4 separate regions of the Homo sapiens genome follow, and regions 2, 3 and 4 are each linked to region 1. Evidence: promoter capture Hi-C in human tissues and cell types (Jung and others, 2019). All regions are on one chromosome and are shown on one strand. Each heading gives the region's core, a stretch centred on a gene start or on the middle of the fragment in contact. The rest is flanking DNA. Distances are from core to core; before and after follow the strand shown.

Evidence for each region. Contacts are between HindIII fragments. The study calls those that stand out against the background at their distance.
Region 2: a contact is called between a fragment that was not itself captured here and the fragment with the promoter of ARHGAP33 in region 1, in 1 of the 25 tissues and cell types used here (thymus).
Region 3: a fragment that was not itself captured here is called in contact with the fragment with the promoter of ARHGAP33 in region 1 in 1 of the 25 tissues and cell types used here (mesenchymal stem cells).
Region 4: a fragment that was not itself captured here is called in contact with the fragment with the promoter of ARHGAP33 in region 1 in 1 of the 25 tissues and cell types used here (spleen).

Annotation. Positions count from the first base shown.
Region 1 is chr19:35,773,918-35,776,946 of GRCh38, forward strand. It overlaps ARHGAP33 (Rho GTPase activating protein 33), which reads left to right and starts at 1,647. Exons shown (of 21, transcript NM_001366178.1): 1 at 1,647-1,747. The coding sequence starts at 1,742. RefSeq lists an enhancer at 1,139-1,198 and a silencer at 1,429-1,908. The HindIII fragment of the contact is 39,613 bases long and covers 1-3,029 here.
Region 2 is chr19:35,602,958-35,605,937 of GRCh38, forward strand. No RefSeq gene overlaps it. Among named protein-coding and RNA genes, the nearest start is that of LINC01766, 6.6 kb to the left of the region's middle. The HindIII fragment of the contact is 5,357 bases long and covers 1-2,980 here.
Region 3 is chr19:35,965,284-35,968,227 of GRCh38, forward strand. No RefSeq gene overlaps it. Among named protein-coding and RNA genes, the nearest start is that of SDHAF1, 28 kb to the right of the region's middle. The HindIII fragment of the contact is 3,385 bases long and covers 1-2,944 here.
Region 4 is chr19:35,987,593-35,990,292 of GRCh38, forward strand. No RefSeq gene overlaps it. Among named protein-coding and RNA genes, the nearest start is that of SDHAF1, 6.2 kb to the right of the region's middle. The HindIII fragment of the contact is 5,281 bases long and covers 1-2,700 here.

The DNA.
Region 1 (3,029 bases), core at 397-2,896:
CGGCCTCCCAAAGTGCTGGGGTTACAGGCGTGAGCCACTGTCCCCAGCTTTTTTTTTTTTTTTTTTTTTTTTTTTTTGAGACAGAGTCTCACTTCAACACCTAAGCTGGAGTGCAGTGGCGCGATCTCGGCTCACAGCAAACTCTGCCACCTGGGTTCAACCCATTGTCTTGCCTCAGCCTCCCAGGTAGCTGGGATTACAGGCACGCCCGCCGCCACACCTGGCTAATTTTTGTATTTTTAGTAGAGACGGGGTTTCTCCATGCTGGCCATGCTGGTGTCGAACTCCTGACCTCAAGTGATCTGCCCGCCTCGGCCTCCCAAAGTGTTGGGATTACAGGCGTGAGCCACCACGCCTGGCCTAATATTCTATATTTTGTTTAATGTTAATTTTGTTCATTGTCTTCTCCCAGTAGCTTTTGAGCTCCAATGTGGGCAGGGTATATTTTCTCCTGGTTTGGTTGTTGATGTATGTACAAATTGATTAGAGTTTGAGTGAATGAATGAATGAATGAATGAATGAACAGACCAAGACCCTCTGAGATGAGAATTTGTTGAGGGCATGACTAAGGAGAGACCCTCCTGTGAAGGGCGTTATTACAGTGTTATCTGGGCATGCTCAGTATTAGCAGGCTCCATTGGGAATGGCTTTATGGGGGGCATAAGCATGATCTGGCATTTCCCCCTAAGCATTTTCCTAGAAAAAAAAAATCAAGGCTGGAGATTGGCCCGTAATAAGCAGTAGAAGGGGAAACAAGAAAATGTCCAGTGGGCAGGGGAGGCCAAATCGCAGAAAGCCTCGGGTTACGTCCTAGGCAAGGTATATGAGGCAACGAGAAACGTCCATGGGCGGAGCGTCCTCGGCATTATGTGAGCGGGGTCGGGATCAGGACTGAAAAGGTGAGACTTGGGACTGGGACTTTGAAAAGCTGCTTAAGGAACTGGGCACTGCTCTGAGGCCGTGGGAGAATCCAATTAAGACTATCAGGGGCTGGCTGGCGTGGTGGCTCACGCCTGTCATCCCAGCGCTTTGAAAGGAGGCTGAGGAGGGAGTATCTCTTGAGCCCCAGAGATCAAGACCATCCTGGGTAACATAGTGAGACCCCCATGTCTAAAAAAAATTAGCCAGGCGTGGTAGCGCACGCCTGTAGTCCCAGCTACATGGGAGGTATCGCTTGAGCCCAGGAGGTTGAGGCTGCAGTAAGCCACGATTGCAGGACTGCGCTCCAGCCTGGGCGACAGAGTGAGACCCTGTCTCTTAAAGAAATAAAAATAAAAAAGTCAGAAGAATGGACACTGGGAGTGGACGAAAGGTAGGGTCCATTGCTTGGTGTTGGAAGTGTCGGAAGCAAAGCATAAAGAACCTGGGGGCTTGTCTCAGGAGGGCGATGACAGCCAATGAAAAGCAGTCATGGGCGTGGCGCTGTCAAACTTCGAGGGGCGGGACCGAGGACACAGAGCCGGGGCGGAGCCCAAGGTGAAACCAATGAGAAGCCTCCGGGTGGGCGGGGCATCGGCCTAAGGCCAAGGGCGGAGCCAATGAGAAGCAGCGCCGCGTTCCCGCTGCCCCCCGCCCCCGTGGGGCGCGCGCCGGAGCCACGGGCAGCCGTTAGGGGCGGGGTCTGCAGCCGCCCGCGCGCGGCTCGCGCCCTCCCCTTTGTGTCGCCATGGCGGCGGCAGCGGCGACGAGAACGGCGAGCGAGGGGTCGAGCGCGGCCGGGGCCTGAGGAGGCTACGCGACCATGGTGGTAAGGGTCCCACGCGGCCGTCAGCCTGTCCGTCCGGATGTCAGTCTGTCCGTGCGCAGCCCCGCCCCGCGCGCCCCGCCCCCGGCCCCGCCCGATCCCGCGGCCTGTGCTTCAGCCGTGGTCCCTCCCGTCCTGCGGCCCCATCCCGGGTCCCAGCCCGTACCTCGACCCCGCCCCCTAAGCGCGCATCCCCGTCTTCCACGCCCTGGATGGGGTGACAGGGACCTAGGGCCTGGGCTGGGAGGAGGCGGGGCTAGTCCAGGAAGGGACCCGCGCCACCCAAGTGGCCCCTGCAGGGGCCTCCTGAGGCTCCTGGGTCCTTCCCCAGCTCCCATCCCAGCACCTTCCTCGGCATCCTTCTGCCAGCCCTCAGCCCTCCCCGGCGGAGCCCCCTCCTCCTCCCCACAGCCCCTTTCTCATTCCCGAGCCCCACCCCCCACCCGCTCCATCCCCAGCCTGACCCTTTTCTTCTCCTTCTCCCTCATTTTCACCCTATCCCAGTTCCTCTCAATCCCCCCCGCCCCGCATCAGTCTGAGCCTTTGCCTCGTCTCTCCAGCCACTCCTTCCTTACTCCACCCCAACAGGCCAGCACTGTACCTCCCTTGATCCTCGGGTCTGCTCCATCTCCTTGTCCTCATCCCCCTCCCCCACCATTTCCCTCTCCCACCATGCTGCTCCCGCTCATTCATCCATTCATTCCCTCACTTAGCAGACATTCACTGAGACCGCCTCTGTGCAGGCCCCACGCTCCAGGCACAGAGAGAGTCAGCTCCCATCCTGCCTTGGGGAACCTTATGGGCTGGAGGGGGACAGACCCTGAGGGTGAGACCCTGAGGGTGACTGGGGGTTGCAGGGACATGGAGCAGGGAGACGCTACAGCCCAGTGAATCTGTCTGGCAGCTGGTTAATTTATTCATCAGATTTTACCCAGTCCCTGCTGCGCGCGACTGGGCTGGCACTGGGGACCCAGAAAAGAATCAGGAACAATCATGTCTGAACACCAACTCAATGCCCAGCTCTATGCTGGGGAGCTCAGTCTGGGGCCCTCCTTCTGGGAGGCCGGTCATAGTCCAATGAGAGAGATGAACTTGTCACCACCAGTGCCATCTCAGAGTGATCAGAGCTGTGAAGGGAGAAGCTCTGGTCAAGGCATGGAACCTGGGATGGGGGAACCTCAGGGGATGGAGAGAGTCCAGAGGAGATGCCAGGTGCAGCCTGAAGGGTCAGGGAGAACTTCCTGGAGGAGGGCACATGTGAGTTGGGACCTGAGGGGTGGGAGTG
Region 2 (2,980 bases), core at 57-2,556, 170 kb before region 1:
TATAATGGAAGAAAACTTGGGAAGGGTTACTAAAGAAACACTTGTTTAATGACACTCGTTACAGACAGTAAGGCGGGCCAGGCACAGTGGCTCATGCCTGTAATCTCAGCACTTTGGGAGGCCGAGGCGGGCGGATCACTTGAGCTTGGGAGTTCAAGACCAGCCTGGCCAACATGGTGAAACCTTGTCTCTACTAAAAATACAAAATTAGCCAGGCGTGGTGGTGTGCACCTGTAATCCCAGCTACTCAGGAGGCTGAGGCATGAGAATTGCTTGAACCTGGGAGGCAGAGGTTGCAGTGGTTCGAGATTGTGCCACTGCACTCCAACCTGTGGGACAGAGCAAAACTGACTCCATCTCAAAAAGAAAAAGACAGTAAGGCAGACTTTATTCAGGACCATTGCAATATGCAGAGGGAATACTGAGACAGGGGCCTGCACTGGAGGAGAAAGATGGGGCTCAACACTAAATACAGCATGAGCAAGTGGGAAGTCCTACCCAAGGAGCAGGGTAGGGGTCAGTGGATGGAAAATTAGTAAGAGAAAACATTGAGGGTAAGGGGGATTCTGACTAAACCAACCTAATAGGATTCTAGTTGAAGACAGGCCAGGGTGACCAGACATCACCAGGGGGATGGTGGAGGATGAGGAACCTGATCAGATGCCGAGGTGTATCAGATACAGAGGATGAGGGTTTCTAGCTAAACTGACGTAGAAGGGTTCTTTTGCTACAACTGGATTTTACAAAGAAGTGCACAGAAGGAGAAGGTTCAGATGCTTTTTTTTTTTTTTTTGAGATGGAGTCTCACTCTGTCACCCAGGCTGGAATGCAGTGGTGCAATCTTGGCTCACTACAGCTTCCGCCTCCCGTATTCAAGCCATTTTCCTGCCTCAGCCTCCTGAGTAGCTAGGATTACAGGTGCTCACCACCTCAACCAGCTAATTTTTTATAGTTTTAATAGAGATGGGGTTTCACCATGTTGGTGAGGCTGGTCTTGAACTCCTGACTTCGTGATATGCCCGCCTCGGCCTCTCAAAGTGCTGGAATTATAGGCGTGAGCCACCGTGCCCAGCCTTTCTTTTTTTTTTTTTTTTTTTTTTCTTTTCTTTTCTTTTTTTTTTTTTTTTGAGACGGGGTCTCGCTCTCTCACTCAGGCTGGAGTACAGTGGCATGATCTCGGCTCACTGCAACCTCTGCCTCCCAGGTTCAAGTGATTCTCCTGCCTCCACCTCCTGAGTAGCTGGGATTACATGCGCCTGCCGCCACGCCTGGCTAATTTTTTTATTTTTAGTAGAGATGGGATTTCATCATGTTGGCCAGGCTGGTCTTAAAACTCCTGACCCCAGGTGATCCACCTGCCTTGGCCTCCCAAAGTGTAGGAATTACAGGCGTGAGCCACCGCGCCTGGCCGCCCGGCTAATTTTTATATTTTTAGTAGAGCTGGGGTTCTCCATGTTGGCCAGGCTGGTCTCAAACTCCTGAGATCAGGTGATCCACCTGCCTCAGCCTCCCAAAGTCCTGGGATTACAGGCATGAGCCACTGGGCCCGGCCCAGGTTCAGAAGCCTGACTAAAGTTTGGCCAAGCAAAGAATCCTTGTCAGGAGGCTGTAAATAAGAGACCTGTGAGAAATAAAAATTGTCAGGTGTCTGAGCCCAAGCCTGCATGTATACATCCAGATGGCCTGAGGCAACTGAAGAACCACAAAAACAAGTGAAAATGGCCAGCTCCTGCCTTAACTGATGACATTACCTTGTGACATTCCTTCTCCTGGACAATAAGTCTCCGGAGCTCCCCACCGAGCACCTTGTGACCCCCGCCCCTGCCTGCAAGAGAACAACCCCCTTTAACTGTAATTTTCCACTACCTACCCAAATCCTATAAAACTGCCTCACTCCTATCTCCCTTTGCTGACTCCTTTTTCGGACTCAGTCCGCCTGCACCCAGGTGATTAAAAAGCTTTTACTGCTCACACAAAGCCTGTTTGATGGTCTCTTCACACGGACGCACGTGACAAAAATAAAATCCTAAGTCCGCCAACTGGCTGAATGAACACTGTCTTGGCCAAGGGGCCTACAGAGAAACACTAAAAGCTGAGTTCCTAGCCGTGACTGAACGGGTGGTCGGGCACACCTCATTCTACCTCCTCCCTTGCTGACTGCCATGAAGCTTTCTTCCCTAAGGGTTAAACAGAAACCAGCCCTATTGAAAGACTCATTCACTGCTAATTTCAACCAATGGCCTGAAATACATGGCTGCTCCTCCCTTTTGTGGTTTCAACATAACAACTGACCAGCATTCCTTCCTGATCAGAGGCCACCTAACCACGGGGTGTGGCTCTGGCCAGTCTACAGAGGCTGCACACAAAGGGCCTTTGTGTCCTCTGCATCACCTTTTGATGTATAGGGCCTAATTGTAATACATTTAAGTGTTAAGTCTCCACTCCAAAGTGAACATGGGGCCTGGCACGGTGGCTCACGCCTGTAATCCCAGCACTTTGGGAGGCCAAGGTGGGCGGATCACCTGAGGTCAGGAGTTTGAGACCAGCCTGGCCAACATGGTGAAACCCTGTCTCTACTAAAAATAAAAAAATTAGCCAGGCATGGTGATGGGTGCCTGTAATCCCAGCTACTCATGAGGCTGAGGCAGGAGAATTGCTTGAACCCTGGGAAAGAGAGGTTGCAGTGAGCTGAGATCGCACCACTACACTACAGCCTGGGTGACAGAGTAAGACTCCATCTCAAAAAAAAAAAAAAAAAAAAAAAAAAGTGAATATGGGATGTTACTACACATGTGCTGTACCTTCCCTTCATGAATATTCATAGCTCCTCCTATAACCTGTTGAATATGTATACTGAGCCAAGCCATTCAGCGTTAACTCTGACCTTATCCTTCCCTTACTGGAGGTGCCTGCTCTCAGCTTCTACCGGAGGCTACACTTCTCGGCCTGTGAGATGGCCCGGCTGCAGGCTGCAACTCTT
Region 3 (2,944 bases), core at 433-2,932, 190 kb after region 1:
GATAGAAAATATGCAAAGTTCTACAGAACACAAGATTATTCTTAAAAGTTCACTTTGGGGTCAGGTGTGGCGGCTCATGCCTGTAATCCCAGCACTTTCGGAGGCCGAGGTGGGCAGATCACCGGAGGTCAGAGTTCGAGACCAACCTGAGCAACATGGCAAAACCTCATTTCTACTAAAAATACAAAAATCAGCCAGATGTGGTGGTGCATGTCTGTAATCCCAGCTACTTAGGAGGCTGAGGCATGAGAATCTCTTGAACCCGGGAGGTGGAGTCTGCAGTGAGCTGAGATCACACCACTGCACTCCAGCCTGGGTGACAGAGTGAGACTCTGTCTCAAAAAAAAAAAAAAAGTTCACTTTGTAGGTGGCTAGCTTCGTGCACTGATAGCAATGAATAAATAACATCCCTTCCTGGGAAGAAGGAAGGAATATATGTCTCCAGTTCCCCACAGCATACACACATGCGCACGCACACACGCGCACACACACACACACACACTCTCACATCCTACCCTCAAGTCTGCTTAATGTGGCAAGTTGAAGTCCTCGATGGCCAGAATCAATGCACCATACATTTGCACTGGCATAGAGATGCTCACATAATTGAATCTGGCTGTCTTCAGATGCAGCCTGTGCTCTCGAGCTCCCTACAGACCTATTCTACACCCAGGCCGTGCTGATCATTTTGTCCCTCAGTCCCACTCTTTTCTTTCTGCTGATACATACAGACCCAGTTTATTTTAAATTGGGAACACTGATAGCTTCTGAATGTTGAGTTTCCAGTGCCAGGGACCCTGGAGGCCCGGGGTATGAAGGCAGGTCGGGGATGAGGCTAAATTCCAGGATCCAATTATATTGCATCCTTCCCTCATCTCATCTCTAAATATTTTGACTGAGGAGGAAGTGAGCCCTTTCATAGAGTCCCATCCCCTCCTAGTCTTCCCTGGTGATGCCACTCCAGTTCCAGGTCTCCTGTGAGGGCCATACATGCTCTGATGGGACCACATGTCAGCTTGTGAAGCACAGACTTAAGTGTGTGGCTGGGCACAGTGGCTCACACTTGTAATCCCAGCACTTTGGAAGGCAGAGATGGGTGGATCACTTAAGCTCAGGAGTTGGAGACCACCATGGGCAAAATGGCAAAACCCTGACTCTACAAGAAATACAAAAATTAGCCAGGTGGCATGCACCTGTAGTCCCAGCTACTTAGGAGGCTGAGGTGGGAAGATGGCTTGAGTCCAGGAGGTGGAGGTTGCAGTGAGCTGAGATCGCACCACTGCACCTCAGCCTGGGCAACAGAGCCAGACCCTGCCTCAAAATAAAAAAGAAAAAGAAAAAAGAAAAAAACAAAAAACAAAAAAGTAATTTAAAATCTAAATAAATAAATAAATGAAAAAGGCCTAAATGTGTGCCCACCACTCAGGTCACATGTGAGTCTGAGACCTTGTCCAGTTCCAAGATGGCAGGACTCCAAAACACCGTCCATCTTCAGCTCTAAGACCATGGCAGTGGCTGCATCAGGACCAAACAACACACCTGAAGCTGAGCCAAGGCTTGTGCCTGTGCTCCTGGGGGGACCTGAGCCTGAACCTGTGGCCATGGCTCATCTGGGGCTTGCACAAGTGACCGTAAATGAACCCTGCCCTGAACCTGTAGCTGCAGCCGCACCAGTGCCTCGACTTGTGACTGTGAAAGAACCACTTCCTGCAACTCTGGCTGTAGCTGAACCAGCACCTATACCACCTACCAAACCCATAGCTAACCATTGTCTACAACCATGTCCAAAACCAAGACAGTATCTGTGTCTGGGTCAGAACTGTCTCATGGCCAAGCTGGGGCTCAAGGTGGTGACAGTGACTAAACCAAGCTTAAAGACTCTGGCTGTGGCAAAATTAGGACTTGACTGTAGCAAAGGACAAGGGGCCATCACAGGGGCTACCACCTGAGCCTCTGGGCTACCATACATCTAGACTTTTTTTCTTTCTTTCTTTCTTTTTTTTTTTTTTTTGAGAAGGAGTTTTGCTCTTGTTGCCCAGGCTGGAGTGCAATGGCACGATCTCGGCTCATTGCAACCTCTACCTCCCGGGTAGAGGTTCAAGCTTGAAGGTTCTACCTTCAAGCGATTCTCCTGCCTCAGCCTCCTGAGTAGCTGGGATTACAGGCATGTGCCATTACACCAGGCTAATTTTGTATTTTTAGTAGAGATGGGGTTTCTCCATGTTGGACAGGCTGGTCTTGAACTCCCAACCTCAGGTGATCCGCCCACCTCAGCCTTCCAAAATGCTGGGATTACAGGCATGAGCCACCGCACCCGGCCTGATTTCTTTTTTTTTTTAAAGACAGGGTCGGGCCTGGCGCAGTGGCTCATGTCTGTAATCCCAGCACTTTGGGAGGCCGAGATGGGCGGATCACAAGGTTAGCAGTTTGAGACCAGCTGGCCAATAATGGTGAAACCCCGTTTCTACTAAAAATACAAAAAAATTAGCCAGGCATGGTGGCGGGTCCCTGTAATCCCAGCTACTTGGGAGGCTGAGGCAAGAGAATTGCTTGAATTCGGGAGGTGGAGGTTGCAGTGAGCCGAGATTGCACCACTGCACTTCCAGCCTGGACGACAGAGCAAGACTCCATCTAAAAAAAAAAAAAAAAAAAAAAAAAGACAGGGTCTTGCCGTCACCCACACTGGAGTTCAATGTCACAGTCTCAGCTCCCTGTAGCCTCTGTCTCCCAAGCTCAAGCAATTCGCTTGCCTCAACCTCCCGAGTACCTGGGATTACAGGTGTGCACCACCACGCCTGGCTAATTTCTGTATTTTTAGAGACGGGGTGTCACCATGTTGGCCAGGCTGGTCCAAACTCCTGGCCTCAAGCGATCTGCTCACCTCAGCCTCCTAAAGTGCCGGGATCACAGACGTGAGCCGTCGTGCCTGGCCAGTATACATCTA
Region 4 (2,700 bases), core at 171-2,670, 210 kb after region 1:
ATGGTGGCGCCACTGCACTCCAGCCTAGGCAACAGAGCCAGACCTCGTCTCTAAAAGAATTAAATAAAATTAAAAAGTGTATGTCTTTAAAAGATAAGGGTGTTTAGGCCAGGCACGGTGGCTCACTCCAGTGATCCCAACCCTTTGGGAGGCCGAGGCGGGCAAATCACTTGAGGTCAGGAGTTCGAGGACAGCCTGGGCCAACATGGTGAAACCCTGTCTCTATTAAAAACACAAAAATTAGCCGGAAGTGGTGGTGCATGCCTGTAGTACCAGCTATTCAGGAGGCTGAGGCAGGAGAATTGCTTGAGCCCAGGAGGTGGAGGTTGCAGTGAGCCGAGATCGTGCCACTGCACTCCAGCCTGGGCAACAGAGCAAGAGTCTGTCTAAAAAAAATAAGAAAAAAGAAAAAAGACAAAAAAAAAGATAAGGGTGTTTAGCAGAGTCAGCTAGATGGTGGGGATGGAGTATAGGAAGGACAGGCATGACTGAGTAGAGACAAGATAAAGGGTTATGGCCTGGTGCGGTGGCCCACGCCTGTAATCCCAGCACTTTGGGAGGCCAAGGCAGGTGGATCACGAGGTCAGGCATTCAAGACCAGACTGGCCAAGATGGTGAAACCCCGTCTCTACTAAAAATACAAAAATTAGCTGGCCATGGTGGTGCGTGCCTGTAACCCCAGCTACTTGGGAGGCTGAGGCAGAGAACTGCTTGAACCTAGGAGGCGGAGGTTGCAGTGAGCCAAGATTGCGCCACTGCACTCCAGCCTAGGTGACAGAGTGAGACTCTGTCTCAAAAAAAAAAAAAAAAAAAAGGTAACAGGTTATTAGCAGGGTCGGGAAATGAATGATGGTAATCTAGACTCTTGATGGTTACAAAGCAGAGATAAGTGATCATTTAAGCAATAGAGAGAAGGTGGAATTGATACTTTGGTAAGTCATTCCTTTCCTCACCTAGAATGTTGAACACATATTACCAATGTGCTAGTGACTGGCTATGATGTTTTTTGTTTGGTTGGTTTTTGTTTTGTTTTGTTTTTGGAGACAGAATGTTACTCTGTCACCCAGGCTGGAGCATAGTCATGTGATCACAGCTCACTGCAGCCCCAAATTCCTGGGCTCAAGTGATCCCCCCGCTTCAGCTTCTGGAGTAGCTGTGACTACAGGCATGCCCCACCATGCCATCCTAATTTTTGTAGAGATGGGGTCTCAGTATGTTGCTCAGGCTGGTCTCAAACTTCTGGGCTCAAGGGATCCTCCTGCCTTAGCCTCCCAAAGTGCTGGGATTACAGATGTGAGCCAACATGCCCGGCCAATTTAGTGTTTTATTTAGTGCTTTTCATGTGCTCAGCACTGTTCTGAGGAATTTTCATGAACCATCTCATCTAATCCTTATTGCAACTGTATCAGTCAGCTAATGCTGCATAACAAACAACCTCAAAATCTTAGTGACTTAACCCCAGGCAGCTTCCTAACTCATGTGTCTGTGGGTTGGTTGGCATTGGCCGATCTTAGCAGGGGTCATGAAGCACTTACCATATGCCTAGCATAGGTACTCTTTTTTTTTTTTTTGAGATGGAGTCTCAGTCTGTCGCCCAGGCAGTGCAATGGCACCATCTTGGCTCACTGCAACCTCTGCCTCCCAGGTTCAAGCGATTCTTCTGCCTCAGCCTCCTGAGCAGCTGGGACTACAGGCCTGCACCACCACACCTGGCTAATTTTTGAGTTTTTAGTAGAGATGGGGTTTCTTCATGTTGGCCAAGATGGTCTCGAACTCCTGGCCTCAAGTGACCCGCCCACCTCAACCTCCCAAAGTGCTGGGATTACAGGCATGAGCCACCGCACCCAGCCTGAAGTAGGTACTCTTGTCCTTCCATGTTACAAACACAGAAACTGAAGTTCAGAAAGGCTAAGTCCCTTGTCCAAGTCTCACCCTCATTTGTGGCGCAATGAGGAGGGACATCCAGGTTTCAGGGAGGCATGGGAGCAGGTTCAGCCTCCTCAGCCCCAGTCCTGACCCCTTACCTCCCCTGCAGGTGGATGGTGAGCACTACTGGCTGCCCTGGGCACTGCCAGGGGGCTGGGGTTGGCCGCCTTGGAGGGCCACCATGCCATGGTGCACATGGCCTGTGGGCTGTATCTCATGTACACCTGGGGAAGCTCATGGTGCCTTCTGAATTCTAAGGCGAGCTGGCGGGGCTCCATGGGTCCTTTGGAGGCAATGTTGGCCTACTTGACCTGCCTCTGGATACCGTGTCCTGGTCCAAGGGCCTGATCACTATCCACTGCCCACTGACCCAGCCCAACCATGGCTTTCATGTCAGCTGCCCACATGACTTGCCCAGATCTTCAAAGCTCCCAAACTGTGTGGCCTCCTGCATGTGCCGGATGGCCCCTTTAACCACTGTGTGGCCCACATCAACAAGCCCTTCCTTAGTATATGCCTGCAGGATGCGTGTCATCCCAGTGGCCAGCACCGTGGTCTCTGTGACACTCTCACAGGCCATACTGCAGCAGCCAGGAGCCTGGGAACCCTGTGATGCCCTGGAGGGGCCCCAAGCATTGCCATAAGTGCTCTGGCTTGGTCTGGGGTGCAGGCAGGGCAGACTATGGGTTGGCTGGAAGAGCCCCTTCCCCTGGTGGGAGTCCAGGAAGAATTCCTAGCATAGGTGGAATTGGTGGAGGAGAATGTGTGGGAAGA